Regions from separate parts of the Homo sapiens genome. Here regions 2 and 3 are each linked to region 1. The links are contacts of gene promoters, found by promoter capture Hi-C in human tissues and cell types (Jung and others, 2019). All regions are on one chromosome and are shown on one strand. Each heading gives the region's core, a stretch centred on a gene start or on the middle of the fragment in contact. The rest is flanking DNA. Distances are from core to core; before and after follow the strand shown.

Region 1 (2,746 bases), core at 104-2,603:
GGTTTTCTCTGGCAAATCAGAAAAGGATCATTTCTCTCCTTCCATGATCATGATGCAATAAAAGCCTAGGGCTCTTCTAGATTTATATTTTATCAAAGAAAGTGAGAGTCTTGTCTTATCCAAATTAACAGAAGCACTTAGTCCAGTGTCCAGTCGCTTGAGTGGCGGTGGCCACTCTCGGAAGGGCAATTACAAACTGTACTAATAGTAAGTCCAGCGCGCCATCTGGTGGCCAATTAGAGAATAGCATGACCGTATCTACTTAAACTAAAAGGCGACTCACCTCCCTTCTTGTCTGTTAAGGCTGCCCTAGCAAATTAATACAATAAGCTTGTTCCTGTTGGTCTTAGTCTGATTGAGAAAGAACCCTTGACTGCTTTGACCCATAGAATATGACAGATGTGACACTGTGCTGGGCATGGCGGCTCACGCCTGTAATTCCAACACCGAGAAGCAGAGGTGGGCGGATCGCTTGATCCCAAGACTGCAAGACCAACCTGGGCAACACAGAAAGACCCCAACTCTACTAAAAATAACTTTTTTGTTTTGTTGTGAGACGGAGTTTCGCTCTTGTCGCCCAGGCTGGAGTGCAATGGCGTGATCTCGGCTCACCACAGACTCCGCCTCCTGGGTTCAAGCGATTCTCCTGCCTCAGCCTCCCGAGTAGCTGGAATGACAGGGGTCCGCCACCGCACGTGGCTAATTTTGTATTTTTAGTAGAGACAGGGTATATCCATGTTGGTCAGGCTGGTCTTGAACTCCCGACTTCCACCCACCTCCGCCTCCCAAACTGTTGGGATTACAGGCGTGAGCCACCACTCCCGGCCAAAAATATAACTTTTAAAAATAGGCTGGCGTGGTGGCCCGCACCTGTAGTCCCAGCTACTCGGGAGGCTGAGGCAAGAGGATCCCTTGAGCCTAGGAGGTAGAGGCTGCGGTGAGCTATGATGGCGCCGCTGCACTCCAGCCTGGGTGACAGAACGAGACCCTGTCTAAACAAACAAACAAACAAACAAACAAGTGACACCGCCAGGCCTGGATCTACATTTTAAGGGAACCAGCAGATTCCGTCGTGATCTCTTTGGCTCCCAGGCTACTGTGTAAGAATTGCAACTCCCCAGCCGGGCGCGGTGGCTCACGCCTGTAATCCCAGCACTTTGGGAGGCCAAGGCGGCGGATCACGAGGTCAGGAGATCGTGACCATCCTGGCTAACACGGTGAAACCCCGTCTCTACTAAAAATACAAAAATTAGCCGGGCGTGGTGGCAGGCGCCTGCAGTCCCAGCTACTCGGGAGACTGAGGCAAGAGAATGGTGTGAACCCAGGAGGTGGAGCTTTCAGTGAGCCCAGATCGCGGCCACTGCACTCCAGCCTAGGCGACAGAGCGAAACTCCGTCTCAAATAAATAAATAAATAAATAATAAAAAAAGAATTGCAGCTCCCCTAAGAGCATGGAGCTGTGAGAAGGCCCAGGAGAATTGAAGCTTCCAGACATGGGAGTGAAGAAGCCATCTTGGAGGTGGGTCCTCCAGCCCTCATCACATGATGCCACGTGGAACAGAAATGAACATCCAGTCAAACCCTTTTCACATTCCTGACCCACAAAATCCTGAACAAGCTTGGGAATTAAGCTATTACTGTGCCATTTTTTGTTGTTGTTGTTTTTGTTTTTTCTTTTTGTTTTGTTTTGGGTTTTTTTTTTTTTTTTTTTTTTTGGTTTTCTGGGTTTTATTTGAGATAGAGTTCTGCTCTTGTTGCCCAGGCTGGAGTGCAATGGCACTATCTCGGCTCACTGCAACCTCCGCCTCCTGGGTTCAAGTGATTCTCCTGCCTCAGCCTCCTGAATAGCTGAGATTACAGGTGCCCACCACCACGCCCGGCTAATTTTTGTATTTTTAGTAGAGACAGTGTTTCGCCACGTTGGCCAGGCTGGTCTCAAACTCCTGACCTCAAGTGATCCGCCCACCTCGGCCTCCCAAAATGCTGGGATTACAGGCGTGAGCCACCGCCTGCGGCCATTGTGCCACTTTTATAGAGGAGGAGATTGAGGTTCAGAGGCCCAGTTGATGGTCCAAGATCACACACTGGGAAGTACTGGAACCAGGGTTATGAAATCCTGTCTGCTTGGCTGCAAAGCCTCTACTCTTCCACACTGCATTATTTAGGAAGACAGACAGGCTTTGGGCACGAGCGTGGGCCTCACTGAGGGGAGAGGGGCCTTCTGGCCTCAGTAATATCCCTGTTCCCTTCTCTGACTGTCACTTCCCCCTTAGAGACAGAGTTTCTGCAGAGTGGAGTCTCTTCTCACGCCTGGGAGAGTTTGTGCAGGAGACATGAGAGCTGAAGATCTGGCACCACCTTTGCCTTAAAGACAAAAGGTGACATTTGGGAAAAGCATGCCACTCTTCGAGTGGTACTTAAGGATCCATGGGCTGAATCTGCCTTTTTTTCCCCAACTGATTTGGCAAGGACCTTCAAATAAATCCAGTGGAGCTTCTTGGGGCAGCATGGCCCACTCTCAAGAGTTTAGCCTTTGAGTCATGTGTGGTGGCTCGTGCCTATAATCCCAGCACTTTGGGAGGCCGAGGCAGGCTCACTTGAGGTCAGGAGTTCAAGACCAACCTAGCCAACATGGTGAAACCCCATCTCTGCTAAAAATACAAAAATCAGCTGGGCATGGTGGCAGGCACCTGTAATCCCAGCTACTCAGGAGGCTGAGGGAGGAGAATCGCTTGAACCCAGGAGG
Region 2 (2,746 bases), core at 105-2,604, 570 kb before region 1:
TTGGGGGTGACAAGCACACACCTTTCCTTGTCACACGTACCCGCTGGAGGGTCTCAAACATGGAGCCCAGCCCCTGTCCCCTGTCTTTCTCATACACCCCCCTATGCTGTCATATTCCTGATCCCTAATGTCACACATCCAGGCTGTAGAGGGCACACATACACACACACGCACACACATACACACCTGTCCTAGCCTCACATTCTCCCACCTAGCTTTACACACCCACCATTTCCTCCATTTCACCCCACACACCTACCCAGCCTGTCCCCACGCACGATCCGGCCAGGGCCACACAAGCCTCCATCTGGGACAACCCTTGTTCAGGACATCCCCAGGGAGGGAGGCTGGGAAGCTCCCGGTCCACAGGCCTCTACTCCTTCCCCTCCCCCAGCCAGGACACGCGAGCTCGGGGAACACCCCTGCTCCGAAAGGGTCACATCACACACCCCTCAAGGACACACAGACACCTGCCCTGAGGCTCCCACGCCCCCCATCTTCTGCGCCCCCCAAGGACACTTATCACCCCCTCCCCCCCACCCCTCTCCTCGCAGACAAAGCTCCCAGCCCCGGGCCTCAGCGAGAGGAGGAGGGGGTCCAGCCCCCTCCTCAACTCCCCGCTCTGTCCCCCGCCTCGGGGAGGGGTGTCTCTCCCCTCCCCAGAGCCCTTGCACCTGCCACGGGAGGGGGGGAAAGGATGGAGAAAGGCGAGGCCCCCTGCCCGCTCCCCCGCCCCGAGCCGCAGCCCTTTCTCACCTCCCGTGTTGCTGCGCTTGGTGCAGACCACCTCGGGGGGCGTTTCGAGGGGCCTCTTGCGGGAATCCGGGGCCTCGGGCTCCATGGGGGGGGCCTGGGGCGGCGGCTGCTGCTGCTGCGGCGGCTGCGGCGGCGGCGGCGGCGGCTGCTGTGGCGGCGGCGACGGCTGCTGGGGAGGCTGGGGTTGCGGCGGCGGCGGCGGCGGGGGCGGCGGCGGCTGCGGGGCCGCGGAGGCCGTGAAGAGGCCGTGCACCGCGCCGGCGGCCATCATCCTCATGGTGGGGGGGGGCGGGGGGCGGGGGGCGGGGGAGGGGGAGGGGAGGGGAGGTGGGAGGGGGAGGGGGCGGTGGAGGGATGGGGGAGGGGGAGCCCCGGAGAGGGAAGGCGGGGGTAGGGGGGAGCCGGTTCTCGGGGGGCTGACAGAGCCTGGAGAGCGGCCGTGAGCAGGATGGCAGGGCCGAGGGGGGTCTCCGATAGGGCCGGGAAAGAACTGAGAGGTGGGGTCTCTCCTGGGACCACAGAGGCTGGGGACTGGACGCGCCACTGGGGGGACGGGACTCCCCGCTTCTTCTTGGCTCCCTGGGGCAAGAGGGCCGAGCCCCCCAGACCCTGCTCGGGGTGGGGGGCCGGAGGAGCGTGGCCGGAGTGGGAGGCGGAGGCGGCCGCTAGTGGGGGCCCGGGGGGCGGCGGGCGCGGGCGGCGGCGGCGACGGGGCTGGCGGTGGCTGCTGGCCCGAGCATCTTCTTCCCGGAGGCTCCCACAGCGCCTGGCCCCTCCCACCCAACGAGGTCACGCCCATGCCGGGTAGGGCCACGCCCTTCGGCGCCCCCATTGGTCCAGCCTTGAAGCCTGGACCACGTCCCTCTGGGTTGGCCACGCCCCTCCCGGCGGCAGAGAGCTGGACCCGACTCCCCCAGGCTGCTGGGAGGACCCCGGGCTCCTCCAAGCCGTCCCCACTCCTCACCTTGAATGAACGTTTATTGAGCACTTACTGTGTGCCAGGTCCGGTTCCAAGCAAGCACGTCACAGACGTTATCGCATTTACTCCCCAGAGCGACCAGCTCTGTGAGTTACGCTTATTATCCCTATTTTACAGATGAGGAAACAGCCTTAGGAGCTTACTTTGACTTCACTTGGTCAAGACAAGAAATTTCGACTAGGCGCGGTGGTTCATGCCTGTCATCCCAGCACTTTGGGAGGCCGAGGCGGAAGAATCACTTGAGCCCAGGAGTTTGAGACGAGCTGGGCAACAATATTGTGAGACCCCATCTCTACAAAAAAAAAATTTTTTTTTTAATTAGCCAGGCGTGGTAGCACATGCTTGTAGCCCCAGGTACTCTGGAGTCTGAGGTGGGAGGATCTCTTGAGCACAGGAGTTTGAGGCTGCAGTCAGCCATGATCAAGCAACTAGATTCGAGCCTGGGAGACAGAGCAAAACCTTGTCTCAAAAAAAAAAAAAAAAAAGAAAGAAAGAAAGAGAAAGAAATTTCACTTCACTCTTTTTCAATCCTTTCAGCTGGGAAATTCCCCTTCAAATCTTTCATCCATCCTTTGAAGAATCAACACCGTGATGCTGAAAGGGCTCAGAGGATTGAATTCACTGAGCTGGAGTTGCAGCCTGCAGCACCTGCCCTGGGGCACAACTGGCTCTCCATTCAAACAACAGCACTCAGGGCCTACCTACTAAGTGCCAGGCACTGTCCCTGATGCTGCGATACAATAGAGAACAAAACAGCCTTGGCCCTTGTACAGTATTACTACTCATGTCATTAAGAAAAATTTGTTTTCAGATGACAAAGTGGAGGCCTGGGAACATTGAGGGTGGCTTCTTCAAGGGCACACAGCTTGAGAGAGAGAAACTGGGATGAGAACGCAGGACAAGTCCAATTTCAGAGCCCAAAGTCATTGGAACTAGGGTGCCTTTCTTTGGAATGGATCATTGCTATTATTCTGTGTTCCTTGATGCAAGAATTTCCTTCTCCCTGGGTTC
Region 3 (2,746 bases), core at 89-2,588, 520 kb before region 1:
AAGCCTCCCATGGCTCCCATCTCGGAGTAAAAGCTACAGTCCTCACTGTGGTCCACAAAGCCCTGCCTGGTCCTGCCCTTTCCTCATTTCATTCCGCTCGCCCGGCTGTGTTCAGCCACCCTGTCCTTCCCACAGGACCCGCCCACTCAACCCCGTTGGCTTTGCCCCCAGCACCCCCTGCCACCTGCAGGCCTCTGTCTGCTCCCCCATCCCAGAGCCAAGGCAGCCACTCTCAGGGAGGCTTTCCCTTGCCCCACCCTTCCAAGGAGCCTGTGTGGGTCTGGTCCCAGCCTGAGGTCACCCTCCCTCACCTCTTTCCTTTTATCCATCGCCTCTATCACCGTCTGAATTCACCTGTGGCCTTGGCTTGTTTCTCCCTGCTGGTCTTTCAACCCCAGGAGGCTAGAGTGGCACCGTTCTCCATGCCACATCTGGCACACTGCCTGGCACATAGTAGGTGCCTAATGGTAATAGCCCGTGGCTTTGCGGGCCCCCGTGTGCCAGGCAGTTCCTAGGTGCTTTGCCTGTATTGGCTCATATAAGGAGCAGATGGGCCGCGATTCCATTGACTTTGCCGAGGAGGAAGCTGAAGCCGGGAGGACCCGCCCCAGGCCTCAGCCAGCAATAAGATGAGCTGACCCTGGAACCCAGCTCCGCACTGAGTCAGCCTGGTTTTCCGCCTCCTAACAAAGGCACCAGGCATCAGGAAGGGGCGCCTTCATAAGGCGTCGCGGACACCTTGGTGTGTGTTAGGCAAAGCCTGCCCCTTCTTCCCGGGAGCGGGAGCGGGGCTTGGATTTCAGCCCATCCCCCCTTCTCACGCATCTTTGTGCTGTGAGCACCTGCCCCGGCCCACGTGGTGACCCGAGGAAGAAATGACCTTGTGAGGTTCAGTAAGCTGCTCAGGGTGTCAGCCAGGTGGCCTCAGCACCAGGCCTAGAAATGGTCCCGCTGGCGGGCACTTGCACACCTTTGCCTCTGGGATCCCCAGTCCAGCCCGTGCCCCCCTGCCACACTCACTTGTAGCCCACGTCGCACCAGCCCAGTGTCTTCATGTGGTAGTGCTGCACATTCCGGGCCTGCTGCTGGCACGAGGCGGGGGTGTTGCAGCTGCTGCCCGCCGTGTGCGATACCACCACATAGCGTAAGGGCAGGCTCAGGTGCTGGGCGCACTCTGATGCCAGGGCCTTCCACTCGTTCCGGGGCACTATGGGGCTGCAGCAGGCCGGGTCTTCTGTCTCCTGAGCCGCTCCGAGTCGAAGGAGGCTGGGGAGAGCCCAGGCAAGCAGCATAGAGCGGCGGGACATAGTGGCAGGGCGGCAGGGTCCGGGAGACCGCTAGGAGCGCCCGGTGGAGGGGCCGCCTTTATCTGCTGGGGGATTCCAGGAGTGGCCCGGAAAGTCTTGCTTCACACCCTGCTGGGACTTCCTGCTGGCCCAGCAGACCCCAGACTCAGCTTCCTTCTCTGGCTGGGCCAGGGCGGGATGCACTGTGGTTGGGGTCTGGGTCACGCCCACGGCAATGACAGGCCCCCTCGCTCAGCAGGGAGGGACGCACAGGCCCCTGGGCGCTTCGCCCCGCCGTTTCTGGAAGACCCGGGGCCGGGATCCCGGTCCTGCTTGTCTCTCCTCTCAGTGGAACATTGAACAACTCAACAGGAACTTACATCGCAGAGGCCCGGGGCATTGGCACATCTTCTCCCCGCAAGGACTGAGGTAACAAAGCTACCCATTTTAAAAACACTTCCTTCCCCCAGGTCCAAGCCTGATGCCATTTACGCTTGCAGCAAACTCAAGAGGTGAGTATCTGGAAGTCCATTTCACAGTGGAGTAAACTGAGGTTGAGAGCAGGGAAGTCACGGGCTGAGACACCGGAGGCACTGGAGCCCCGCGTCTAGAGCCAGGCTGCCTGCATGTGAATCCTGGATATGCAGTGTGTGAGAGCCTGCAAGTGGTTTTTAAAAATGTGTATTTAAAATTTTTTTTTTAATTTTCTATTTTATAAATAATATTTTCCTTTTTTTTTTTTTTTTTTTTTGAGATGGAGTTTTGCTCTTGTCACCCAGGCTGGAGTGCAATGGTGCGATCTTGGGCCACTGCAACCTCCGCCTCCTGGCTTCAAGTGATTCTCCTGCCTCAGCCTCCTGAGTAGCTGGGATTACAAGTGCACACCACCACGCCCAGCTAATTTTTATATTTTTGGTAGAGACGGGGTTTTGCCATGTTGGCCTGGCTGGTGTCGAACTCCTGACCTCAGGTGAGCCACCTGCCAGTGTTCCAGAGTGCTGGGATTACTATAGGCATGAGCCACCGTGCCTGACCTGTGTGGTGTGTTTTCATCTTCTGTGTTCTGCCTTCTCATATACATTGTACTCATGCTGTTACTGAATTGTGCACCAGGCATCTGTAGCACTTTTCAGAAATTATCATATACTCAACGACAAGCTTGCCAGATCCATGTTATTATTAACCCCTCTTACAGTTGACGGAACTGAGGCCCGGGGGGATGATCACATACAGGAGGTGATGAAGCCAGGGTTTGGCTACAGGCTTTCTGCCTGCAGAGTTATAAACCGTATTCTCCTCCCTACAAACTTATATAAGGACATTAAAAAAAAAAATCAAAACCATGTGCATCAATTTACCTTTTGTCACCTAATATTTCATGGGCATCTCACCAGGGCAGTACATCTAATTCTAATTTATTCTTTATAATAGTTGCACAATATGCTATAGTATCAGTTCAG

Evidence for each region. Contacts are between HindIII fragments. The study calls those that stand out against the background at their distance.
Region 2: a contact is called between the fragment with the promoter of NOVA2 here and a fragment that was not itself captured in region 1, in 3 of the 25 tissues and cell types used here (aorta, dorsolateral prefrontal cortex and mesenchymal stem cells).
Region 3: the fragment with the promoter of PGLYRP1 here is called in contact with a fragment that was not itself captured in region 1 in 2 of the 25 tissues and cell types used here (aorta and dorsolateral prefrontal cortex).

Annotation. Positions count from the first base shown.
Region 1 is chr19:46,542,641-46,545,386 of GRCh38, forward strand. It overlaps the pseudogene PPP5D1P. Among named protein-coding and RNA genes, the nearest start is that of PNMA8B, 48 kb to the left of the region's middle. The HindIII fragment of the contact is 3,360 bases long and covers 1-2,746 here.
Region 2 is chr19:45,972,511-45,975,256 of GRCh38, forward strand. It overlaps NOVA2 (NOVA alternative splicing regulator 2), which reads right to left and starts at 1,355. Exons shown (of 4, transcript NM_002516.4): 1 at 757-1,355. The coding sequence starts at 841. RefSeq lists a silencer at 1,521-1,680. The HindIII fragment of the contact is 35,305 bases long and covers 1-2,746 here.
Region 3 is chr19:46,021,715-46,024,460 of GRCh38, forward strand. It overlaps PGLYRP1 (peptidoglycan recognition protein 1), which reads right to left and starts at 1,339. Exons shown (of 3, transcript NM_005091.3): 1 at 1,021-1,339. The coding sequence starts at 1,307. RefSeq lists an enhancer at 1-832. The HindIII fragment of the contact is 20,258 bases long and covers 1-2,746 here.